2 separate regions of the Homo sapiens genome follow, and region 2 is linked to region 1. The links are contacts of gene promoters, found by promoter capture Hi-C in blood cells and fetal thymus (Javierre and others, 2016). All regions are on one chromosome and are shown on one strand. The core of a region is centred on a gene start or on the middle of the fragment in contact, and the rest is flanking DNA. Distances in the headings are between cores, read along the strand shown.

What was found. The method cuts DNA at HindIII sites, captures the fragments that hold promoters and counts their contacts. A CHiCAGO score of 5 or more calls a contact.
Region 2: the fragment with the promoter of POLD4 here is called in contact with the fragment with the promoter of PITPNM1 in region 1 in 9 of 17 cell types (total B cells, naive CD8 T cells, activated CD4 T cells and 6 more); the score reaches 7.0 in total B cells.

Annotation. Positions count from the first base shown.
Region 1 is chr11:67,500,862-67,507,229 of GRCh38, forward strand. It overlaps PITPNM1 (phosphatidylinositol transfer protein membrane associated 1), which reads right to left and starts at 4,502. Exons shown (of 24, transcript NM_004910.3): 1 at 4,327-4,502; 2 at 3,242-3,360; 3 at 1,643-1,857; 4 at 1,431-1,552; 5 at 1,001-1,225. The coding sequence starts at 3,319. It overlaps CDK2AP2 (cyclin dependent kinase 2 associated protein 2), which reads right to left. Exons shown (of 4, transcript NM_005851.5): 4 at 5,636-6,151. The coding sequence ends at 6,084. RefSeq lists enhancers at 2,211-2,960, 2,961-3,710 and silencers at 3,489-3,588, 3,669-3,788, 3,799-3,958, 4,169-4,798. The HindIII fragment of the contact is 23,305 bases long and covers 1-6,368 here.
Region 2 is chr11:67,350,938-67,357,305 of GRCh38, forward strand. POLD4 (DNA polymerase delta 4, accessory subunit) reads right to left here and starts at 2,609. Exons shown (of 4, transcript NM_021173.5): 1 at 2,366-2,609; 2 at 2,051-2,140; 3 at 1,754-1,865; 4 at 1-1,082. The coding sequence starts at 2,462. The coding sequence ends at 1,058. The region is part of intron 2 of LOC100130987 (a long non-coding RNA gene); the gene reads left to right. RefSeq lists enhancers at 1,289-1,871, 1,872-2,453, 2,447-2,496 and a silencer at 2,677-2,926. The HindIII fragment of the contact is 23,887 bases long and covers 1-6,368 here.

The sequences.
Region 1 (6,368 bases), core at 3,252-5,751:
GGGATATTTTTATCTTAAGCAGAAGAAAAAGTTAGAAACTCTTAAATGTCTAGGAAATAAAGTAATGATGGTTGAATGATAATTATAAACTTCTGCGAGGAGATATATTGGAATCTTAGTAGTGGCTATATTTTTCTTATTTGTGCTTTTTGGCATTTTTCCAAATGCAAGACAAGGCGTCCTCATTATTCTCTAAGCTGAATTTCCTCACCTGTAAAATGGGAATAATCATCGTCATTACCTGGTGGGGTGTTGTGGGTGTTAAGGGAGATCTTGCACAAAAAGTAATTAGCCATGGGTCTGTGTGTCGCAATCACTGTCAGTATTAGCTCTTCATATCTGACTCAACCTCTTCCTCATTTACTGAAGAGAAATTTAAAGTGCAGAGATGGCCAGTGCCTTGCTGGAGGTACCATGGGGTGGGGGTCAGTAGTGGGACAGAAGCCAGGCCGCTGGTCTCTCCAACTAGGGACCATCCCTCTGTGTGCAGATGACCTGGGCACTGAGGCAGGGCTGAATTGTAGGCGTGGTGGGGTCAGGTTGAGGGGAGGTGTGGGACTGGGGCTCCTGAACACCAGGGCCAAAGGCTGGAACACTAGAAACTGGGAGTGGAGGTGGGGAATCCCAGAGAGAATGACATCAGAGTCACAGCCTCAGCCTGCACTCCTTAGCATGCTGCCAGTTAGAGCCGGTGACCTTCCTGAGTGTCTCTAAGTCTCATCTAACTCATAGGATGATGGAGAATCTTAGAATCTTAATGGAAGCAGCAGCATTTCTGAATGTCAGAGCCAGTATGGACCTTGTAGATCATGTTACCAGCTTCCTGCTCTGTGGATGCCTGGCTAGGCTGTGCGGCCGCTTCTGCCCTAGTGCTCCCCACCTCAAATGGAAACGATGGCTTTCTGCTTCTGTGTCCCCAGTGGATGGGAGCATCCCTGGCCCTAAACATGGGGTCTGGGGCATGCTGGGTAAGTGGGACCTCCCGCAGCTGGGTGCTCACCTACATCATGGATGAACTGCTCGATCTTGGCTTGCATGCCCCAGTAGCGGAACTCAACCTTGCACAGCTTATAGGCACACATAAGGGGCCCCGTCTGTGCCGCCGTCCGTGCCCAGTCATCAGACAGTGGCCCTCGGCCCGTCTTGACCGAGTGATAAAGCCGGGGGTCCTCTTCTGCTTTGTACTCGCCTGGGGCCACTGCATCCCGCACGATGTCGATGGTGTCTGAGGGAGTTCGGCAAGCATTGAGCAGCGCCAGCCCCTTTGAGCCCCCGCTCCTGGCACCCTCTTGGGACTGGATGACAGTTCCCGTCCTTTTGCAGACAGGACATGAGGCCTGGAGAGGGCTGGGACTTCTCAGAGGCTGCCCACTGAGGCAGCCAGGAGCCTGAGAGGGGCGCCAGGGTCCCCCCATAGCTCCAGGCCTCACCCAGGATGCGCTGTCTCCTCTCGGCCCCGCTCAGGTTGAAGACGTTTGGCTGCTGCCCCCCATCAGGCAGGTAATAGGTCTCAATTTCAATGGAGAATTTCTCCACGAAAGGGCAGGTGTACCTGGGCAGAAGGCACGGGTGAGGCTCACTGCTGTACCCACCAGGGCCGCTCCCCTCCTGGCCTCGGACCATGCCCAGCTCACCCACTCACCGGGTTCGGGTGTAGGGGTAGGCATTCCAGGATTCCTCTTCTACCTGCAGGGCAGCCTTGGGCAGCAGTGCCCGGAACCAGCCTGGGATGTGGGAGCCCACGTGGTACACCTTGTGTGTGTATTGCCCGCTGCCCCCGGGCCCATCCGTGTAGGGCCGGTTGGCCAGGATCTCCACGCCGCTGCCCTCACCACTAGACTCCTCCCGGCTCTTTTTCTGTGGCCCAAGGGAGAGCAGGACAGGGAGCTCAGCCCCAGCTTAGCATCTGGGATCCCCAGCTCAGCCTGGTGTTCTACACAGCTCTGGGGCCCTGGTCCCAGCCTTTTCAACTCCCTGAAACCAGACCCCGCCCCACCAAAGCTCCCTGGGATCAGAATCACAGATGCAGCCCAGCCCCGCATGGGGTCTGCAACCCAGCACTCAGTTGAGTCATTCAAGTATTCATTGAGTGTCTGCTCCACTCCAGGCAGTGTTTGGGATTATATCAATTGAGATATATTGATGAATAGAACAAAGATCCCTGCCCTCGTGGAACTTACATTCTAGTGGAAGGAGACAGACAAAAGGAAAAAGCAAATTATGTGGTGTGTTAGAAGGCGCTAGGTGCTATAGGAAAAGAAAGCCTAGAGTAGGGTATAGGTGATGAGGGTTGGGGGCTGCAGTTTTGATCTGATAGTCAGGGAAGGCCTTGCTAATAACACAATGTGACCATGGCTTGAACATGACTTTAAGGAGGTGAGGTAGGAGGAGGTGCTCAAGGCCGGGGGAAGCCAGTGCAGCCCCAAGGTGGGAGCATACTGGATGTGCTGGCAGGTGGCAAGGAGGCCGGGGTGGCTGGCAAGGAAGAAGGGACTAGGAGAGGAAAAGGGGCCTCCAGCTCTCAGAGGCCCTGACCCTGGCCCCCTCCCTCTCTGGGAGGCCCTGGCCGCCTCCCAATCCCAGCTCCGCCACACCCCTCAGAGCTTGAGAGCCCCCAGATCCTGCCTTCTATTGCTCCGGGGCTCAGATGGCCCTTTCAAGCCCGAGGCGGGGTCCGGGCCCTCTTGCTTTATGAGATTCTGGTCCTGCTGTGCTGGGGACAGATCTGGAGCAGACTCCCCCAGGCCCCGCACCAACCCGGCCACTGCTGAGGGCCTGCCCTGGCCCACTCTTCTCACTGCCCTACACCAGAGCCTCCTCGCCCTCCCATCCTTGCTGCCCTGTCCCTGCTCCAGGTTTGACACCTGGTCCTCACCACATCTCCCTGACCTCCAGGGATGGCCAGGACCCTCCACTTCTCCAGACCCCCTCCCGCCTTCCTCTGCCGCGGAGGCCCCCCTCCTCATTCTTGCCGCCTCCTGGGCGCTTTTTCCTTCCCCGATGGGATTACAGATCCTGAGGAGGATTACAGGAGATCAGAGGAGGGCTGGGCACTTAGCGGATGGGAAGCACCACTCGGCCCTCCTGCCCCTCTTCCCACAGTCCTTCCCCATTCCCACATCTGAAGGGGGGCCTCTCTTGCCTCCTCCGGGCTCCCAGCCGGTCCCAGCCCCGGGGCAGGGCTGGCGGGGTCGGCAGGGCTCCACCCCTTGCCCGGGTGCCCTCTCCCCGCCGCCCTCACCTGGATCATGTAGAGCTGGGCCACCTGGTACTCGTCCAGGCTCATGGGCAGCAGAATGTGGTATTCCTTGATGAGCATCCTGAAGGCGCTCGGCGGGCCGCGCGCGGCCTCCGCTCCTCCTGGCGCAGGGCACGGCGCGACAGTCAGTGCGGGGAGGCTGCGCGCGGCCCCGAGCCCTGCGCGCCGGCCGAGGGACTCAGGCCACGGGACCCCATGTCCGGGCCCGCCACGAGGGAGGCAGAGGCGAGCCTAGCACCGCCGCCCGCGCCGCCGGGGCCGGGAGCCGCAGCGAGGCTGAGCGCTGACCTCTTTTCCGCGCAGCCCCCGCCCCCCGCCCGCCCGTCGCCATGGCAACCGCGCGCTGACGCGGGCCCCCCGGAGCGCCAGGCTCCGGCCGGCGGGCGGGAGGGCCACCTCACCTCTCCCGCTGCGACCGCGTCCTAACCCCGGGAAACGGCATCCCTCTGGGCGCGCCCCCGAAGCCCCGGGGCCCCTCCTTCCGGGCCCGCCTTCCGCGACCGGCCCCTCGGGGACCCGCCCCTTGCATCCCCTTCCCGGAGTCGGCGGGGTCCCAAGTCCCCCACTCTCGGACGTCCACCTAGAGCTTTGTTCCCCGAGTGTCTCTGCGCGGAGTGGCCCAGTGCGCCCAGCATCTCTGCCAGGGTTCCCCACGCCCTGCACCCGAACCTACCTTCCGGGACCGGTAATCTCCTCCGCCCTCCAGATCTGCCTTCTTGGGCAGCCGGGTCCTCGACCTCCCCCTCCCAGCATCCTTCCTGGACCCCTGGCCCTCGCCGGCTCTCCACGCGCCTAGGCAGCCACTCCGTCCTCTTCCCAGGGGGTGAGCCCTCCTCAGGCTGAGGCCAGAGTGGCTCCACTTGGTATCCCACGGGCCATGGCCCTGGAGACCCGCTCCGTCCACCTGCGCCCCAGACTGGCACCGAGGTTCCGCTGCAGGCACCCCTCCATCCCCCACTCGCACCCCGCGAGCAAGCGAGAGGCCCCGTTGTCCCCACTTCCCTCTGCTCGCCGGCGTCCCGGTCCCCTGCCGCGCTCTTGGCCCGCCTGCCGACGCCCCGGCTCACCTCTAGCTTGAGGCGGGCGCCCCTCACCCAGCCCGGGCAGGGCCGGCCGGCCCGTGGGTCGGAGCCCGGAGCGCCCCCAGCCCCGGCCTCGGGTTCCAGCGGTGGCCGGACCCTCCCGAGGCGCAGTGCCGGCCCATGGCCCCGACCTTCCTCTCGATCCGCCCGCCGGCGCCCCTGCAGTCCCTCCCCGACGCCCGCCGCGTCACTGCGGCCGCCCCGCCCCCTTCCTGGGCCCGGCTGGCCCTCCCCACCCCGGCGGGGTCCGGGCAGCCCCGCCTGCAGCGGAGGAGGCAGGGAGGGAGGCCCCTGCCTTCCTTCCCCCGGGCAGTGGGAAAAAGGCCATTGCCTAAATTCTGGCTCTTCCTAGTCCCTCTGTGCTGATTGGGGTCCCCAAAGACTCTTAGTTCCTATCTCCACCCTAGCCCAGCCCTCCTGTGTGCAGTCACAGGGTGGTTTGATATGGGGGGTCCCAGGCCCACTCTCCTCTTCTCACTCTCTGCAGTCCTTAGATTTGGGACCCAGGGTTGAGGAAATGCCTCCCCACCAGTCTAGCCAGAAGCTGGTGGCTCTGACATGCCTCCACCTAGGGCTGGGCTCGGCTCCAGGGCCCCAGGCCTCTATGGTCACCCAGCTACACGCCCAGGCAGAAACGGGCTGTCACTGTGAGTGGCTGGGCTAGCCCCTGCATGGTGCCACAAAGCCTCCCCCACCTCTGCCTTCCGGGTCCACAAGTCCGGTCACCCAGCCACCCGGAGTCTGGGCAAAGGCCTCACGAGGCACCCCAAGGCTGGGTTCATGGGATCCCACCCAGCCTGCTACAAGGTGCTGGGGCAGTGACGGCAGCACCCCGCCAGCCCCTCCCCTTGACACTGAGGCCAAGTGCTGGAAGCAGCAGTGCCCTTTCTCTCTGAGAAGTCAGAGACCTTCAGGGCTGATTCAGAGGCTGGGGTGTTGTCAGGGCATTAGGGCGTGTGAGGGAGTGGCTTACGTGAACTGGCATTTCCATGCTGCCAGGCATCACCGCCAATCCAGAGGAAGCGCCCTCCAGGCCCAGGCTGCCCACAGCGCCAAGGGCTGTGGAAGCAGCCAGGCCCTGTGCTGCCCCCTGGTGGCACCACAGGAAGGCCCAGGGCTCTCAGCGCCACGGCTGGGGCGGAGAGGGCCCAGGTCCCACCAAAGGCTGATGGCCTACAGAGGCAAGTCAAACCTCATTTAATCACACCCTCCCCATCCATAGTCTCCTCTTCCCCTGTCTCTGCCTGGCCCACCCAGGCTTAGCTGAAGAACCAGACCCAGAAAGGCTCAGAGCTGAGAGCACAACTCCAAATCATCTTTTATTAATATAAAAAGGGCATATTTAGCAAAAGACACACAGATAAAAGAGTCACTATGGCTCAGGACACAAGGCAGGGAGGTGCCAGGCCTGTGCCCCTGCTGGGGGAGAAGGAGGCTCGGGACAAAGTGGGAGAAGTGCTGGGAAGGGCTGAGCGGTAGGGGCCACAAAAGTTCCGGTGGGCAACACTGTCGGCAGGTCATGGGTGGGACTCATGGGGACCTCGCTGCTAACTCTTGTTGTGGGGGGGTGTCCTTAGTGCTGCCACCTGGAGGGCCACTCCTTGGTTCCTGGAGGGGACCCACCAAGGGACACAGGACAGGAAGCCCAGGATGGTTAGTGCAACTCGGGATGAAGGCCAGGGAGAAGCGGGTGCTCTGCAGTGGCCGGATAGGTCCAGACGCTGAGGCCGAGGCGCTTCCTGTTACGTGCGGGCGTTCCGCTCTGTCTCTGCCAGGCACTCTCTGACTAGGGCCCGGGCATGGATGATACCTGGGGGTGGGGTGGGGTCTCAGCAACCCTCCACAGCCCCACCCACTGCCCTCCAGAGGAGGACCCCTGCCTCCCCACTCCCTTTCCACTTTCGGCAAAAGAAATTCAAATCTAATGACGGCTAGATGAAATTAGAGGTTTGGTTAATCCTCAAGGTTGCCCTGTTGAAATACAAATTCCCATGCTCTTCCCTGGAAATGGACTCAATTTCAATTCG
Region 2 (6,368 bases), core at 1,359-3,858, 150 kb before region 1:
ATTTTTAGTAGAGATGGGGTTTCACCATGTTAGCCAGGATGGTCTCGATCTCTTGACCTCGTGATCCGCCCTCCTTGGCCTCCCAAAGTGCTGGGATTACAGGTGTGAGCCACCGCGCCCAGCCATCAGTTTCTTACCAAAGCCCCTCAGATGATGGTCATGTCTGAGCAGGTCCTGCAAGTTGAGACCCTCGCCAGCCCTGCTTTGGATCAAGGTGGCCCCCGATGTGGGAAGCCAGAGGTGCTTGCTGGGAATGTATAGATATGTTTGGACTTCATGAGCTATGGACCCCAGGGGTCCTTCTCTGGCAAAGCACCCATGTTTGTGAGGTGGGCACCGCTTAGCAAGGCAGGTGGCTGGCTAGTCAGGTAGGTTTTCCCTGGCTGCTCCAGAAGGTGAGTCATGAGTAGTTTCCCTGTGGGCCACCAGGGGGCACCAGAGGTCGCTCAGCTCTTCCGAGGACTTGATCCGTCTCAAGATGACTGTCTCCTCCCTCTTCGGCCTAGGACTTTCTTGAAGGAAAAGAGCTGTAGTGGTGCCTCTCTCATCTCCTAACTTGCTAGGGACTGCCAGTCAAAGCAGGGCCACAGTAAAGGACTGAAGGTCAGGATTCCAGGCTCAATATTCTTTATTGATAAGCATTAGTGAACCCCTTGCCCTGGGAGCTCAGCCAGTCCTGCTCTCAGATTCCTGGCCTTAGGTGGGAGAGCATCTTTTCCTCATGGATCAACTGTCCATGTCTGACTGTGCCTAACTTGCCAGATCATGGGTCAGGGAGACAGGCAGCAGGTATTGGAAGGTGATGGCCAGGTCCTTTTCCCCAGTGACCACTCTCCATCTAGAAGCACTCTGCTTCAGCTGCGCAGGCTCTTCCGGGGACTCTGGGAGCCTGCTGGTTAGATGGAGGAGTTGAGCCTCTGACACCTCCAGGTTCTGCCTGCCAAGGGTTCCTCCGCAGCCGGGCTGAGCTGAGCAGGAGCAATGGGCTCTCGCTTCTGTCCTGAGGTTCTTGGGTGGTGAGCAAGAGAGCTAAGGGCAGGAGGTCTTACGTGGTGCCTCATAGGGGATAGAGATGCCAGAGACTGTGGAAGATGGGGTGGGAGGGAGGGATACCCCAGAGAGAGAGAGAGAGAAACAGAGAATCAGTTGTTGAGTCCCTGGATCTGATTTCACCAGCTTATTCTTGGCCATGCCCATAGTCCTTGGGAAACCCCTCAGTTCTAAATAGATAGTTCCTTGGGTCCTGGGTGTACCTTTGCCCCCCACTAGCTTGTAGAGGTAAGAATTATTGGCCGGGTGTGGTGGCTCACGCCTGTAATCCCAGCACTTTGGGAGGCTGAGGTGGGTGGGATCACGAGGTCAGGAGATCAAGACCATCCTGGCTAACACGGTGAAACCCTGTCTCTACTAAAAATAGAAAAAATTAGCCGGGCGTGTTGGCGGGCGCCTGTAGTCCCAGCTACTTGGGAGGCTGAGACAGGAGAATGGCGTGAACCCGAGAGGCGGAGTTTGCAGTGAGCCGAGATCGCGCCACTGCACTCCAGCCTGGGCAACAGAGCAAGACTCTGTCTCAAAAAAAAAGAATTATTATAGTGGCGTGTCCTCCTGAGCCAGGCACCTCATAGAATCTTCTTGCCTGTTCAGCAAGGCCTTCCAACCCTCCATCCATTTCTCCCTCAGGTCAGGACAGCAGGGTGACAGTGCCTGGAGAAGGCCCTGGCTCCCCTGAAAGCCCTCCCGGCCTGTCTCTGACCTGCACTGGAAGCGGGGGTCTCCGGGGTGGGTCTTCAGCACCTGCCACACCTCTGGGGGAGGCTCCAAGCCCATCTGCTTGGCCCGACACCAGCGCTGCAGCCGTGTGATCCCTGCCAGGGTGGGAAGAAGACTCTGGAGACTTGTGGGGGGTGGGGTAGAGTCTGAGCTGGAGAATGTGTGTGTTGGGGGGAGACAGTTCCTGAGGGTCAGAGTCACGCAAGCGCTTGGGTGACTTCAGAGACGTGTGGGTGACTGGCTGGGAGAGGCGCCTCCGTGGGGCTGGGTGGGTTCTCACCGGTGCAGGGCCCGTACTGCCAGGCCAGGTCAAACTGCCTCAGCAGCTCCAGCTCCGCTTCCTCCTCGTCGCGGGGCTGGGGCTCCTCCCCTGCAATGACAGCTGCTCTTCAGTACGAGGTTGGCTTCAGTCTCCTGCCCCTCACCTCCCAGCCTTCCTCACCACCGCTTTGCCTCTGCCACCCCGCAGCTAGACCTGGTGTCGGGAGGGGAGGACAGGCCACCTTTCCCTTTCCATCGGCCCCTCCGCCCCTCTAGGGGCCTCCTCTAGGCCCCTCCGTGTCCACTCCTCCTGCCTCCCTCACACCTCAGAGACCTAGCTCGGGTGCCAGCTCCCCCTTGCTGTGCCCAGCGGGCCCCTCCCTCCTCTTCACAACCGGGTAGGAATCAGTGATGAGCCGCTTCCGGCCCATGGCGGCCACCCAGGCAGGCAGAGAAGGAGGCAACTGCGGGGAAGAGGAGAGACCGGCCAGTGGGCGCGAGAAAGACAGCTGCTGAGAGAGACAGACGGGGCCAGGCCAGCGGCGGGCAGACAAGATGACCCAGACAAACCGAGAGAGGAAGTCGCCGGGGTCCAGGGAGGGACGCCTCCCCCACCCCCAAAAGCACGCAAACAGGAAAGACTTCAGCCAATGGCAGGCCGCCTATGCGGGGCGGGGCCCTGGCGCTAGCCAATGGTAGGCAGTGTAGGGTGAGGGGCGGGGCGGTGCCTCAGCTGTGGGCCGCGGGAGGAGGGGCAGGCTGGGGCGGGGGACCTGTCGGGATGCCCCGACTTCACCACCTTCCCCGGCCCCCATTGGTCTGCTGTGGGTCCCGAGAGACTTCAGGAGAGTTATCTTCAGCCTCTCACTTCCCGTTTTCCCTTCCTAGGCAAATGTTCTTTTCAGCTTCGCTAATCCCCGTGGCCAGTTTGTAACTCCCTAGAGTCCAGCTGGAGCCTTCACTCGGTCCTTTGGCCCGCCCCGCCTTGTGGGGGCAGGTCTGGAGGTCTGAAGAGAGTTTGGGCTAATCCAGGCCCCTTCCCGGCTCCCACCCAACCCCCACTGGCCCCAGGAGACCTGGCTGGAGAAGCCCATGGGTTCTGAAACCTCCTTTCTCACAGTCTGTGCCCAAAGATGCTGCCCACTCTTAGTCCGAGTAAGTGTTTGCCGTTTTGACTCTCCTGGGGTCCCAAGTCGTGTCCGGCCCGCCCCACCAGTCAGGAAGATTCCATACTGAGTAGGAAGGCAGAGCAAGGGTCTGGTCCCCCCACCACAATGTGTTTGGATCCCTAGTTCTTCACTGGCAAAATCTGCCCTGTCTCTCACAATAATGTGAGTCTGAGCAGAAAATATTAATAATAAACCTAACACTCATTGCACGTACCATGTGCCAAGTACTGTTCTAAGCACTTTCCCACATGTTAATTAAAATAGATGTCAAAAAGTTTTTGAAAGTAGGAAGTATAGCTAAATGATTATCACTGCTGATAGTCACAGGCATTGTAGGGCCCCAATCAAACCACAGTCTCTCTTGCACCCCAGGAGCTCACTGTCACAAGGCAGACAGATGCACAGTTGTCAGTGAGAGGCTATAATTCCTACCAGAAGAGGGAAAGGGTGGGTCAGAGATTGGTTAGGACCACAGGGATGATTAGCATTGGAAGGCCTCCTGGAGGAGGTGGACTGCTGTAAACAATGTCTCTCAATTCTCCACCCATGACCTTTGTCCCTTGGGCTCCTGTCATCACTGACTCACCCATACTGCTGCCTCCCCCTCACCAACTTCCTGGCAGGAGGCAAAAGTACTGGCCAGTGGGAGTCTGGGAACCAGCACAGGGACCAGCCCAGCTCTAATCACCCTCCAGAGATCCCATCCGGTTCTTCCTTCCAGGGATACTGGGAGGGTGGGGCACAGACTCCTGGGCTGCTGCCTGCTCAGAGGCCTCTGCCTCCTCCTTTCCCTGCTCTGGGGTCTGGGTGTTCTGCACTGGAAGAGGGCTAAGCCACTGGTACACGTGGGCACAAGGGAGGAAGCTGCTCTGGAAAGGAGACCACCAGAGGGGAGGCAGAGGAGCAGGCCATGTCTTCAGGGTCCACGTCCTGCCTGGCTCTCCCCATCGGCGTCCTAGAGGAGGGAGCTTGTGGGGGCACTGCATGGAGCTGGAGGGCCCTTTCTGCTGTATTGTTTGGGCTGGGCCTAGTCTAATCCCCCCATCTGCCTTGCGGACTAAGTGGGGCCCACATTCAGGGAGACAGTGTCCCTGCGGAGTTAGTGATGGAAGCAGGGAGGCCCTGTCTACCAGGGCTGGGAAGGGCCTAGGTGCTGAGTCCAGTCAGGTGCTGAGCATGCTAGGTAGGGATGGCGTCTAGGCTCTGGGGGATTGACTACCCCTCCCCAGAGGGTCTTGGCAAGGGTTCCTGGGCTGTTTCCAGAGGTGTGTGGCACCCACCTCCTGAGTCCACCAAGCCCTGAGGGAGTAGGGAGCCATGGGTGGGGCAGACCCCTCCTCATTCCCAGTCCCTCCCACCCCTGAAAGCTGATAGCCGTGGGGCCCTGCCACCGCCCAGGGAGCGTGAAATGGGGTGTGCCGCTGGGCAGCCACAGTAGCTCCTACCACCGCCTGGGCCTATTGCCTTTTCTCCTTGGGCAGCCTCTGGCATCCTGAGCTGCTCTGTAGATGTTGGCTGGGCTGTCCCTGCCAGCTTCCCCAGCTTTGCCTGGCACAGGCCCCAACCCAGGCTGGAAGATGTCTCCCTCAGGCTTCAGCTACCCCCACACCCAAGAAAAAGATTCAGAGTGGTCAGCTCAAGTGCAGGCACCCTAGGCCTGGCTTTCTGCCTTGGAGTTGAGGGAACTCTCTGCAGGCAGCATTGCTGCTCTCTCTTAGATGGCAGTAGGGTGGAGCCCCTAGGAAAGAGTTGGCACCCAGGGATTTTGGAACCATCCCTGTCCAACTGGCATGCCCTGACTCAGCACCTGAATCCCTAAGGTGCGCTGAGGACTAGGCTGGACCTTGACCTTCCTGTCCTCAGGTCTTTTCCTTCTTTGCTGTCCAACCCCATCCACCTTCTGTACCTTCTTGCCTAGAACCCCTTCACCTACTCAGGCAGCATCCTGGCCTCATTCCCTAAACTGCTGTCTTGGAGCCTGTTCAGGCTTCAGACTGGATGGCCAGGCCAGAGTTCTGGGTTGGGTGCTGAGTTCTCTCTCCCTGGGGGAATGTCCTGAGACCCTTGTGTCAGCCCCGACACCCAGAGGCTGGTGATGAGACTAGTAGGAGTGACCTTTGCACCTCAGCCTGGTAACAATACCCAAGACCCTTGCTTCAGGGCCAAGCCCAGAGTCCTGGGGGTCCAGGAGAGAAAAGAACTGAAACAGGAACCCGGCACCTTCCCAGGGGCTGAGGCCCACCGCTGACTGCACTCAAGGGAAGGATTAGGTCTGGCTTAGCTCAGACAATGTGGTAGAATGGGGGCCTCAGCACTGCACCTGCATTCCCTTCCCCCACCTCACCATGAGGTTTGTGGGGAGAGCCAGGTAGAGCTGGGAAGCTGGAGGCAGGTGGAGAGAGGGGAGCAGCTGCCTGGGACCCAGTGGGCTGTGGGGTGGATCCAGCTCTTCTTCCCTCTCGCCAGTACCCCCCTTCCTCAGGCCCTTGGGCCCTGCCACCCACCCTGAGCTGAAAGTCAGTCCCACTCAGGAGATTCTGGGCAGCCAGAATACCCCTGGCCCCGGCCCCCAACATACTCACACACCGTGGGCCCCATTCCTCACCCTGTGGGCCAGAATTCTTTCAGGCAGTCCTTCCTAGTCCCTCACTGCCTTCCCAGACACTCCCTCTTCCCCTGGTCCAGGTTCTCTGGCCTAATGTGCTTCCATCGCAGCAGCTTGAGTGGAAAGGATGGGGTCTCTGGGTTTTTCTACCACTGCATCTTCTGTCCTGCTCCTACCACCCTCCACACCTTCTTCTCTAGTCACCTCCTCTTTCACCTTGGCCATCCAGGCTCTGGAGCAGTTCCGGGAAGACTTGAAAAGGGGCCTTCTGGCCATTACTCACCTTGGCCACCAGGTGTCAGACTTTGCCCAGCTGGGTGGGAGGAAGGTTCTAGTTAACCATTTCCACCCCATCAGTCTGGCCTCAGAGAGAGATCTGGGCAAGTTGGGGAGGAGCCTAGAGGTGACCACTGAACTGGCAAGGCTGAGGGACCCTGAAGGTTGAGACTGGGAAAAGGACTGGAACTCTGACTCTACAGCTTTCCCCCAGATCCCCCTCACTGCCACTGCCCCCACACCACCCCACTGACAAGGGCTTTGTCCCCTGCTGGGAAGTTCAGGAA